Linked DNA regions of Homo sapiens: regions 1, 2 and 4 are each linked to region 3. The links are contacts of gene promoters, found by promoter capture Hi-C in blood cells and fetal thymus (Javierre and others, 2016). All regions are on one chromosome and are shown on one strand. The core of a region is centred on a gene start or on the middle of the fragment in contact, and the rest is flanking DNA. Distances in the headings are between cores, read along the strand shown.

Region 1 (2,960 bases), core at 53-2,552, 2.3 Mb after region 3:
CATTTTACATATTATTGAAGTGCTAGGTTTTAAATATATATGGCATTGTAAATTTATGAGTTTATTGACTTAAGTCATATTATTGAAATTTGTTGGGAGTACATTAGCAAACATTTGATTATTAAGCCTTGCAGGAGTTTAAAATTTGGAGTAGAAATTGTGCTCTTACATACAGGAATTTTCAACTAATTTTTATAAGTGTTGTGCATATACAATTAAATAGAACCATGTAATTGTAACTTTCTAATTGGAATGACTTAAGAATTCAAACTATTTTCCTCCTTCCTTAGCCAGAATGGTACTTGGCTCAAGTACTTATGTGGATTGGAAACCATACTGAATTTCTGGATGAGAAGATTCAGCCAATATTAGACAAAGTAGGCTCTTTGGTAAACGCAAGGGTAAGAGACTCAGTCATAAGTGTTTCTGTTTTAGAACTGTATGTGTGCATGGATAACTTTTTATTTACATACCTCATGTTTGTGTATTTTTTTAGCTTGAATTTTCTCGGGGCCTTATGATGCTGGTTCTTGAGAAGTTAGCCACTGATATTCCTTGTCTGCTATATGATGACAATCTCTTCTGTCATTTGGTGGATGAAGTACTCTTGTTTGAAAGGGAGCTACACAGTGTTCATGGCTATCCTGGCACTTTTGCTAGTTGTATGCATATTCTATCAGAGGAAACCTGTTTTCAGAGATGGTTGACGGTGGAGAGAAAATGTAAGTGCTGATGTGGCCAGATGGTAGGGAGATATGTCTGTTTCTGTGGGTATACATTTTTGATATTTTTCTTCTCCAGTTCTAAATAGGAACTAGAGCCATTTGAAATTTCCTTTTCAGGGTTTTCTGTTTCCTTCAGAGATAATCTTTTCTTTACTTCACATGAAACTTCCATTTTTCCTGAAATTACACTCTACATATTTCTAGAGTGGAATAGTCAAGCCAGTGGGGTGTTTGTTTTATAGATTTTATCATATAATTTATTTTATTTTTATTTATTTATTTTGGGACAGACTCTTGCTCTGTTGTCCAGGCTAAAGTGCAGTAGTTTGATCTCAGCTCATTGCAACCTCCACCCCCTGCGTTCAAGCGATTCTCCTGTCTCAGCCTCCCGAGTAGTTAGGATTACAGGCACGCACTACCACGCCTGGCTAATTTTTCTGTTTTTAGGAGTGACAGGGTTACAACATGTTGGCCAGGCTGGTCTGGAACTCCTGACTTCAAGTAATCCACCTGCCTTGGCCTCCCAAAGTGTCAGAATATTTTATTTTTTTATTTTTGAGATAGGGTCTCACTTTGTCACCGAGGCTAGAGTGGAGTGGGCCGATCATGGCTTACTGCAGCCTCGACCTCTGGGGCTCAGGTGATCCTCCTGCCTCAGCCACCCCAGTAGCTGGGAGTATAGGTATATGCAAGCCATGCCTGGCTACTTTTTGTATTTTTTGTAGAGATGGGGTTTCCCTGGGGTTTTGCCCAAGCTGGTTGTGAACTCCTAGACTCAAGCAATCCACCCACCTTGGCCTCCTGGAGTGCTGGGATTACTGGTGTGAGCCACCGTGCCTGGCCAATAGAATATTTTTTACTGTAGCTTATCTAGTCAACATAACTATTTTCAGAATTTGGGGATGGGAGTAAAGTATCCTGTTTAAAGCATTAATTAAGTTAAATTTAGTACAACCAGTGGGATATTGTAGGTTTGTTTCTTTTTTATAGAAAAGCCATCATTCCTAAAAAATTACAAGTTGAATAATTAGGAACGACTGTAACTACTTAATTGACATAATTGTTTTGTCTGCTTATCAGTTGCTCTTCAAAAAATGGACTCAATGCTTTCCTCAGAAGCTGCCTGGGTATCGCAATATAAGGATATCACTGACGTGGATGAAATGAAAGTTCCAGATTGTGCAGAAACTTTTATGACTCTACTCTTGGTTATAACTGGTAAGTATGTCTTTTAAGATATGACTTTGTTTTAAAAGTACTGTTTTCACGTGGTAGTTTTTAAAGTAGCTCAGTAGGCTGGGTGCAGTGGCTCATGCCTGTAATCCTAGCACTTTGAGAGGCTGAGACGGGCAGGTTGCTTGAGCCCAGGAGTTCGAGAACAGCCTGGGGTACATGGTGAAATGCCCTCTCTTCCGAAAAAATACAGAAATTAGCCAGTTGTGGTGGTGTGTGCCTGTAGTCCCAGCTACTTGGGAGGCTGAGGTGGGAGGATTTTTTGAGCATGGGAGGTAGAGGTTGCAGTGAGCCATGATCACGCCACTGCAGTCCAGCCTTGGTGACAGAGTGAGACCCTGTCAATAAAGTAATCAATAAATAAGTGGCTCAGCAAATTAATATTATATGATGGTTGTTATCTTCAAATTCAGTTTCTATATTGGTAGAAATCTAACACAATATTCTAACTTTTGGGTTTTTAATAATTTAAGGATTTAAACATTGGTATACATGAAGGAAAACTTCCTGAATAATTACACAAAAACAATTAAATAGGAATTTAATTTTATTATCCAAACTGTCTTGCTATTGGGCTTTTTAGGTGTCTTCAGTAAATGGTGATTGGCCTATATTTTAAATATTGTCTTGATCTTGATTTATCAAAGATTGCAGAAGAGAGTAAAATAATGAAGTAATTTTAAGGATTGGAGTAGTAATAGGAACTTTTGTTACAGTGCAGGGATTCTCTGGCTGGAGGGTAGCCTAGCATCCTCTGGCCCTGGTTGGTCTTTAGCCAATCACGTTGCCCCCTTGTGGGCCTGCTTGTTGTCCAGGTGCCACTGGACCCTCATTGCCACCATCCCTGGCCCTCTTCACCTTCGTCAACCACTAGCCTGTCCGTTTCTTAGGCTTGTCTGGTAACCTGAAGAAGTATCATTCCAGCCCAGTCAGTAAATAATTCCTTTTTTTTTTTTTTTTTTTTTTTTTGAGATGGAGTCTCACTCTGTCACCCAGGCTGGA
Region 2 (2,958 bases), core at 106-2,605, 2.2 Mb after region 3:
TAGATTAGAGGCCCTTGTAAGACCTCCTAGAGGAGGCGGTAGTCCCCGTGAAGTGGCTTTGGCGGCCCTGGTGAGATGACAGATTTCTCTAGGGAGGTGGCTCTAGTGAGCAGGCAAGGTAACTCCAGGTCCTGCGGAGGTGACACACACCTCCTGGGAAGGTGGCGGTGGCACCAGGACAGTGGCACTTTGAGGTACCTGATTCGGACGGCCCTGGTCGCTCAGAAAGTGGGAGAGCGTCTGGAACCTCTCTTGCCTCCAGTGGGTGCCCTTTGGGAGCCCCGTATGCTTTCCATCCACGACTTTAATCTTAATGTGCTTGTCACATCTGTTCTTCTTCTAGTGCTGCTCTGAAAGTGGTGACGAAAGGAAGAACCTCGAGGAGAAAAGTAAGCCAGCTCCAAACACCTTAGCTTTTTCTTCCCGCCCAAACTCAGCCTTCCAGGGTCTGCAATATAGAAAGGTTCTTTGCCTATCTTTTAGATGCAGTACCGTTTTCTGCACAATATGCTTATATGGTAATACTGATGACCATGATACACATATTTTTGTCTTTCTAAAATTGTAAAATATGGGATGCTTTGGAGAAGAGCACTTCCCGATCCATACCTAGTACAGGGACTAGAGTGTTTTCGCTGGAAGTCTGCCTATCATACAGTACTCAGAATAATTGGGGCCTGCCTGTCATTTTAATGAAACATCAACTTACTAAGCATCAGGAATTTGGAGGGGCCCATGATCTAGGACAGACGACCACCACCCTAATTGGGTTCAAAGGAGGCAAATGACAGTTGTTTAGTTCACCTTCAGTAAATTGGCAATTTAAAATTGCTCTGGCAAGAGCACAACGGATAACTTGGGTTCTGGATCTTGGACTGGACAGGAAAGGGGGAAAAGGTCAGTACCACCATTTCCTCCCTAGTACGGGAGTATATGTCAGGGTTGTGGACTTTTGCCATTTTACTTTGATGGCAGGTTATTGCAAATCAAGGGCTCTTTAGGGACCTTTGAAGTGACATTTTTTGGGAGAGGAAGGGGAAAAGCATGTGATAGCTCTGCTATTGGGATTTTTGGTTCTTTTGACTGTGGCAAACAGTTGGGAATGTGTAGCAGTAAGAAAAACGGTGCCCACATTAGCACATGGCCCTTAGGAGTAAGATTTGCCCTTAACATTAGCGGCTGATAGAATCTGCCTCAGAAAGAAGGCTCTGAGCAGTCCATAGCACATGACTGTCATAACTGCCACATCTCAGCTCCTTTTTCTTGAAGGATTTCAGAGTGCCTTGTATCTCTCAGTTAAACCCTTCCCTTTCCATTTTCCACCTTTGCCTCATTCAGATGCCTGGAAAGTAGTCTGATGCCTACTGAGCTGTCATTTTAATAAAATAATAGATGTAGACTATCATATCAAGGACTTTGACCTTGTTCCTCTTTCCACAGCTCAAACTGCTTTGCAGTTAGGAGTGCTCTTTACAAAAAATAGAAAAGGAGACACATAAAAACCTCCCAAACCACCGGTGTGTCATTTTGAAGAATGTCATTTCACTAAGAATGTACTATGCCACATTTGAATGGTTACACATCAAGGGTGTAATTTTTTTTTTTTTTGAGACTTAGTCTCACTCTGTCTCTCAGGCTGGAGTGCAGTGGCGCGATCTCGCCTTACTGCAAGCTCCGCCTCTGAGTTCAAGTAATTCCCCTGCCTCGGCCTCCTCAGTAGCTGGGATTACTGGTGCCCGCCAAACACCCGGCTAATTTTTGTATTTTTAGTAGAGGCAGGGTTTCACCATTTTGGTTAGGCTGGTCTTGAACTCCTGACCTCAGGCAATCCACCGTCCTCGGCCTTCCAAAGTGCTGGGATTATAGGCATGAGCCACTGTGCTCAGTGGGTGTAATTTTTTTTAAAAAATGAAGGTAGAATTTCCTCCCTAAGATACAGCAACTTTAGCATTCACAAAACATTTCCTGCCTCCATTTATCTGCAGATACACCACACAAATCACTTGTTTTATTTAAGATTTAAAAAAGGCATTGTGAGTTCTGTACATAATAGTAGATTATTATACGTTAATATTATATATAATTATATAGTATAATTAATATATAATTTGTATTATATAGTCCCATTTATAACCTTGAGATATAGGCTGGGGCAAATGTTACAATTTGTTTTCTAGTTGGAAAATTGAGGCATAGTGTTATGTTAATATTGCCTCTCCTACCCTCTAAATTGTCAATTTAAAATTGCTCTGGGAAGGCACAATGTATAGCTTGGGTTCTGGATCTTGCACTGAACAGGAAAGGGGGAAAAGGTCAGTACCACCTCCTGATTCTCACAGCATGTGAAAAATCTTTTAATTTAATTCATATAAGTTAAGTAGAACAAAGGAAATTTTGTTTGTTGGGGTGTAGGGGTGGAGACAGGAACATACTCTGTATAAAACATTGGTATATATTCTGTTAATCTTTACATAAATAGTTGACCAATATCTGACATTTACATTTTGCACTTAGGCATATCATTATTTAGATATTAATATTAATAAGCCTAATGTGTATTGGACTTATTAAATGTCACAAAACAGGTAGTTTATTTGCCATGGAAAGAATCTCACTTTATACTATTTAGTGGTTGCATTTGTCATTTTGATTTTTTCCTAGTAATTTGTTCTCTCATATTTTCTTTTTTCTGTTTCTGACAAAGATATCTTTGTACAATGACATCGATGACATTTGAAGCTTAAAAACCTTTTTTTTTTTTTTTTTTGAGGCAGAGTCTCACTCTGTTGCCCAGGCTGGAGTGCAGTGGCGTGATCTCGGCTCACTGCAACCTCCGCCTCCCGGGTTCAAGCGATTCTTCTGCCTCAGCCTCCCGAGTAGCTGGGACTATAAGCGTGCACCGCCATGCCCAGCTAATTTTTGTATTTTTAGTAGAGACAGGTTTTCACCATATTGGCC
Region 3 (2,948 bases), core at 89-2,588:
GTATGATTGGCTGTTTGGCATTGCAAATATGGGAAGAGATTCAGGGGACACAGTGAATTCCCTTTTGGACAAGTTGATATTGAGTTTCCAATGGGGTATTCAAGTGTAGTTTCCTAGTAGTTGATGGTTAAGTGGGCTGGAGCTCAAGAGAAAGGCCTGGGTTGGGCAGACAGGTCTTGAAGTGGAGGGAAAAACCCAGAGGGAGAATGTTCAGTAGAAGAGGCTTAGAGTCCTGGCAAACACCAACTTTTAGGGCAAAATGTAGTGTTTCACAGCACAGTCTTTGGCGTTAACCTATTACTAGCAGGGTAACCTGGGGCAAGTTATTTGACTTCAGTGTCTTAATTGCAAAATAAGCACTATACCATCTACCTGAGTTAGAAAAGCATTTGCAATTTTTAGTTCCTTGAGAGATCTGTGGGCTGGGCGCAGTGGCTCACGCCTGTAATCCTAGCACTTTGGGAGGTGGAGGTGGGTGGATTACCTGAGGTTAGGAGTTCAAAACCAGCCTGACCAATATGGTGAAACCCCATCTCTACTAAAAATACAAAGTAGCCAGGCGTGGTGGCACATGCCTGTAATCCCAGCTACCTGGGAGGCTGAGGCAGGAGAATTGCTTGAACCCAGGAGGCAGAGGTTGCAGTGAGCTGAGATTGCACCACTGCACTCCAGCCTGGGCAACAAGAGTGAAACTCCATCTCAAAAACAAAAACAAAAACAAAAAACAGATCTGTGAATAAAGAGGAGTCCAAGAAGGTGCAGAGGGAACTATGAGGAGGTGGAGCTCTAGAATATATTGAGAAAAGAGAATTTCAAAGAAGCCAACAATGTCAAATCCTCCAACAGGACTGTAACATAAGTCTGTAAAGTGTCCAACTTTTAGCAATTAGTGACCTTACCAAGGGCAATTTCTATGGAATGAGATGAGCCATATTGTAGAGGTTCGAAGAGTGGATAGTGGTCAACACGGATACATCGTTTCCTCCCCTCACGGCATCTGTCTCTCCCACTAGACTTTTCCTTTAAAGGCAGTGACTTATGAATATTATTCCACTGTTTTCAATCAATTCCATCCACCAGTGAGATATATTGCATCAGGTTACCTTTCATTCCACCGCATTTGTGCCTTGCACTTAGTAGGCGATCGATAAAATAACTGATGATAAAGGGGCTTCTGCAGACTCCCCAATTCATTTGGTAAAGACCGCTCAGCATCATGGTCGGGCCCTGATTGCTTTCACAACCGCTTCGAGGAGTGTCATTCCCATCACGGCCACAAGGTGGAGCCCACCTCCCTGCTCTGGGACCTCAGGTCGCGACCCCGGAAGCACATCCTTCATCCTCTACCTTCCTTCTAGCAGAAATGGCGGCTGCGGCGGCTCGAGTGGTGTTGTCATCCGCGGCGCGGCGGCGGCTCTGGGGTTTCAGCGAGAGTCTTCTAATCCGAGGCGCTGCGGGACGGGTGAGCTTCCCTCCAGGCCGGTCCTGTCCTCGAGATCTCGCCAGACCCGGCGCAGCGCACCTGAGAGTCGGCGCCACAGATCCGAACAGTGGGTCGGGCAGGGCCTCCTCGACCCGGACCCGCCGGGCGCCAGGCGGCCTGGGGCTGCTGAACTGGCCGGGGGTGACTGGCTTGTGGCCACCCGCCAGGAGACCTGCTAGTGACGTGTGGGATGACCCTGGTTTTCGGCTCCTCCCGCCAGCTACTGAGGAGTGCATGTTTGACCACTAAAAACGTAGTGCTTGCAAATTGGGGAAAACTAAAAAGTGAAATGGGTACCGCTCCAGAGTTCTATTTTTGCCTAAGACTGAACTTCGTCCTCAGCTGGGCTTCCCGCGAACCTGGACATCAATGAAGTAAAATTTTTTATGTATTTGCATTTTTCTCATGAGAGAGCCTCTGACTTTAAGCAAAGGGATGTGAGACTTTTGTATAAGGGCAAAGAAAAACTGCTGAAAGGCGAATAGTTTCTGGCCGAAAAGCCAGTCATTTGCATTTTGAACATCGACCCATCTTCCTATCCTCTCTCTCTTTTTTTTTTTAACCATTTCCAAACCCTGTTGCTTTTCTTGAACAATGAAAACCCGAGTGTCAGTTTTGTCTTGTGTGTAGGTAGTTTTACATAGTTTCCCTCTCTTTTTTTTTTTCCTGCTTGTTTTCTCCATAATGAATATAAAACATTTCTAGGAGAGGTAGTGAAATAAAGTCAATTTCTCTCTGGGTAATGATAATAATTGCTCATCTTCCCTGAGGGAAGGGCATGTTTATAAACACGTTGCTGGCTTTAGGACAGTGGCTGGTGACAGATGTTTCTAGGCCAGGCAGAGATCTCAGTGGAACCAAAATTCAAGAAGAAAGATTCTTTTATAGAGACAGCCTATTTAAAATAGATTTGGTTTTAAAAGCAACATTTAATATCAGATTAGTAATGTGTTTTGCTTTGTCTCTTCCACTTCCTACCCCCAACCAGTCATTATATTTTGGAGAGAACAGATTAAGAAGTACACAGGCTGCTACCCAAGTTGTTCTGAATGTTCCTGAAACAAGAGTAACATGTTTAGAAAGTGGACTCAGAGTAGCTTCGGAAGACTCTGGGCTCTCAACATGCACAGTAAGTGACTCAGGCAACCTTCTCTAAGTGACCCTTCATTTAGCGTAGCAAATTGTTGATTTTAATCTTTAGCTTTTTCGTTGGCTGGTGGTTCAAAAAGGGTGACAGTTATTTTGCCTTGACAGATTTCCATGAGTTGTGAACCTTTTCTTCCAGTGGTACTTAGTTACAGGGTGCATATGTATCCTGTTGCATTGTCTGCATCTTGTTCTTGTAGCTTATTATTGATTATTTATTTTCAGTAGTATTGATAATAATGAAAGAAATATGTTTGCAGGGCTACTCTGCCAAGTGTTTTTACTGATGTCTTATTTGATAAAAAGCAATTGTTTGTAG
Region 4 (3,075 bases), core at 458-2,957, 2.1 Mb after region 3:
TGGTAAATGATAAAACAGGCTAGCATCTACAAATATTTTAAGCATTCATGACATACCTTTTTAATGTTTTTAAATATTTCTAGGGTACATAGTTCAAGTTTTTTCAAACTGCAGAAAATCTCCAAAAAATTTACCAATATATTTATTGAAAAAAATTTCCACAGGACAAACACATGTTGTTGATAGCCAAACTGTATACGCTTTTCAGTAATGGGATTTAAAACTTAAGGAGAGTACAGTTACAAAGCTTAGAATCATCTAAAGTGTACATTTAACTGATCACAAAGAAGAGGCAGTGGGCATCAGTGGAGCCAAGGAAAAGAGGAAATTATTTCTATTACTGGTCATGCCTACAGGGTGTTAGTTACTATAAAGAATATTTAAAGACAACCTTGTAGCTACTGAAAAATAAAATAAAAAAAGTTTTTAAAGCTAAAGTAAAAAACATGGCCTTATTGCTTTTTTAGAAAAACTGTTTTCCTGTATTCTAAGATTTTCTATATAAAGCATCTTCCATCCCACTCTCATAGATGCACATGATAAAACCGTGCAGGTCCATGTGACCTGTTAAGGGTCTCTTCAGAGAAAAAAAATTTTTACTTTTTACTTTTCCTCCCAGCAAAGGAAGGAGTTAAAAGTAAGGTTCTTACAATAATCTCTCTTTGAGGACTAGAAACTATTTTCTGTATCAGTCCCAGAAGGGCTTGTCATCCTGCAGCTTAATGGTAGTACAAAAGACCACTGAATCAGCATCCAGGGCTCTAATCCAGCATTCTAAACTGGCTAAGGCACTAAAAAGATAAGTGACTTTCATCAAGAGCCACGCTCTGCTGGCCACGGCGGCTCAAGCCTGTAATCCCAGCACTTAAGGAGGCCAGGGTTGGTGGATCACTTGAGGTAAGGAGTTCAAGACCAGCCTGCCAACATGATGAAACCCCGTCTCTACTAAAAATACAAAAAATTAGCCAGGCATGGTGGCGCATGCCTGTAATCCCATCTATTCAGGAGGCTGAAGCATGAGAATCGCTTGAACCCGGGAGGCAGAGGTAGGAGTGAGCTGAGATCGTGCCACTGCACTCCAACCTAGGTGACAAAGCGAAACTCTATCTCAAAAAAAAAAAAAAAAAAAAAGACTCAGGCTCCTTCAGTCCTTCATTTTTCCCTCAGTGAAAACATGGAATGGTTTAGGGCAATGGACTTCAAACTGTGTTCTTCAAAGCTGCCTTGGGGAGCACCCCAATGGACAAGGGGAAGGCCAGGCGGCAAGGACCAAGCTCTCACCTGCCAATTCTCTCAGAGTAGAGCCACCTTTTCCGCTTTATACATAATAGAGTTCTACACAAGATTTATTTTATTATTATTATTATTATTATTATTATTATTATTATTCGAGATAGAGTCTCACTCTGTTGCCCAGGCTGCAGTGAAATGGCACAATCTCAGCTCACTGCCACCTCCACCTGCTGGGTTCAAGCAATTCTCCTGCCTCAGCCTCCCGAGTAGCTGAGATTACAGGAGCATGCAACCAGGCCCAGCTAATTTTTTGTATTTTTACTACAGACAGGGCTTCATCACGCTGGCCAGGCTGGTATCGAACTCCTGACCTCAAGTGATTCACCCACCTTGGCCTCTCAAAGTGTTGAGAATACAGGCATGAGCCACTGTGCCCGGCCTACACAAGATTTTATTTCACAAAGCATTCTGCTACTACAAAGTAAGGCTGAAAAACATTGATCCAGGTGCTCTGTAAAGTCCAGGCCACTCCACACATTTTCAGACCCACAGCTATACACGATGTATTTCATCTGTGAAAGATGTAGTCAATTTTACATTAATTCTGCAATTAACATTCAGTAACATCTTATTTTAGGATAAAATACATCATGCCCAATCCCCCCAAAAAACTATCAATAGGATATTCTAGAAATAAAAATAATCAACAGGATAAGATTCCCCATAAAAGTGACTGAAGGCCGGGCACAGTGGCTCACCCCTGTAATCCCAGTACTTTGGGAAGATGAAGCAGGCGGATCGCCTGAGGTCAGGAGTTCGAGACCAGCCTGACCAACACGGAGAAACCCCGTCTCTACTAAAAATACAAAATTAGCCAGGCGTGGTGGCGCATGCCTGTAATCCCAGCTACTCAGGAGGCTGAGGCAGGAGAATCGCTTGAACCCGGGAAGCAGAGGTTGCAGTGAGCCAAGATCACGTCATTGCACTCCAGCCTGGGCAACAAGAGCAAGACTCCATCTCAAACAACAACAACAACAACAACAAAAGTGACCAAAGTAGCTAGCTGGCATCAAACACAGTGGCAACCTTTGTACCCTGGATGTTAGAAGTAATGACAGCACCTGGTGACCAAATGAAGCACCCAGCCACAAAAGTAGGACTGCCAAGTGCCAGGAATTTCTTTTAAGTAAATTATCCATCTTATCTCTACTACATCTCAATGAAACTTCGGCTTCCTGGGGATGTTTATTCCTAGCTTACAGTCTTTCCTTACCCTTTCTCCCACCCTATCTACTAAACCTGCCCAACACACACAGTCCATCCAGAGACACATCTAAATTTCAGGAGTTTGGGGGATACAGGTACCCACACTATATGTTCACAAAGTTGAATGACAGTTGTATGTTACAACATACCCAAGTTTAATGCATTCAATCATGTCATCTAGATGCTCCTTCTTATTCCTATCCTTTTAGGCTCCATATTCTAAGACTGATTTGAAAATTATAATGCCGAAAAATATTTACATTAATAATGTTTCAAAGAGATGCCTGAAACAATGCACTCTGGAACTGACAAGCCAATTTTTTTAATTAATTTTTTTTCTTTCTTTTTTTTTTTTTTTTTGAGACAGACTCTCGCTCTGCACCCCAGGCTGGAGTGCAGTGGCACCATCTCGGCTCACTGCAACCTCTGCCTCCCAGGTTCAAATGATTCTCATGCCTTACCCTCCCAAGTAGCTGGGACTATAGGCGTGCACCATCAAGCCTGACTAATTTTTTGTATTTTAGTAGAGACAGGGTTTTACCATGTTGCCCAGGCTGGTCTTGAACTCCTGACCTC

The links. The method cuts DNA at HindIII sites, captures the fragments that hold promoters and counts their contacts. A CHiCAGO score of 5 or more calls a contact.
Region 1: a contact is called between a fragment that was not itself captured here and the fragment with the promoter of PMPCB in region 3, in 1 of 17 cell types (non-activated CD4 T cells). The highest score is 5.2, in non-activated CD4 T cells.
Region 2: a fragment that was not itself captured here is called in contact with the fragment with the promoter of PMPCB in region 3 in 5 of 17 cell types (total B cells, monocytes, activated CD4 T cells and 2 more); the score reaches 9.2 in total B cells.
Region 4: a fragment that was not itself captured here is called in contact with the fragment with the promoter of PMPCB in region 3 in 1 of 17 cell types (total CD8 T cells); the score reaches 5.6 in total CD8 T cells.

Annotation. Positions count from the first base shown.
Region 1 is chr7:105,549,765-105,552,724 of GRCh38, forward strand. RINT1 (RAD50 interactor 1) reads left to right here. Exons shown (of 15, transcript NM_021930.6): 8 at 291-401; 9 at 497-722; 10 at 1,806-1,943. Among named protein-coding and RNA genes, the nearest start is that of RINT1, 19 kb to the left of the region's middle. The HindIII fragment of the contact is 7,987 bases long and covers 1-2,960 here.
Region 2 is chr7:105,532,481-105,535,438 of GRCh38, forward strand. It overlaps RINT1 (RAD50 interactor 1), which reads left to right. Exons shown (of 15, transcript NM_021930.6): 2 at 344-389. Among named protein-coding and RNA genes, the nearest start is that of RINT1, 1.8 kb to the left of the region's middle. RefSeq lists enhancers at 1-71, 1-493. The HindIII fragment of the contact is 2,763 bases long and covers 1-2,737 here.
Region 3 is chr7:103,296,097-103,299,044 of GRCh38, forward strand. It overlaps PMPCB (peptidase, mitochondrial processing subunit beta), which reads left to right and starts at 1,339. Exons shown (of 13, transcript NM_004279.3): 1 at 1,339-1,462; 2 at 2,472-2,612. The coding sequence starts at 1,364. RefSeq lists enhancers at 1,134-1,193, 1,294-1,593. The HindIII fragment of the contact is 11,349 bases long and covers 1-2,948 here.
Region 4 is chr7:105,367,775-105,370,849 of GRCh38, forward strand. All of the region lies in intron 2 of SRPK2 (SRSF protein kinase 2), which reads right to left. Among named protein-coding and RNA genes, the nearest start is that of SRPK2, 20 kb to the right of the region's middle. The HindIII fragment of the contact is 2,924 bases long and covers 246-3,075 here.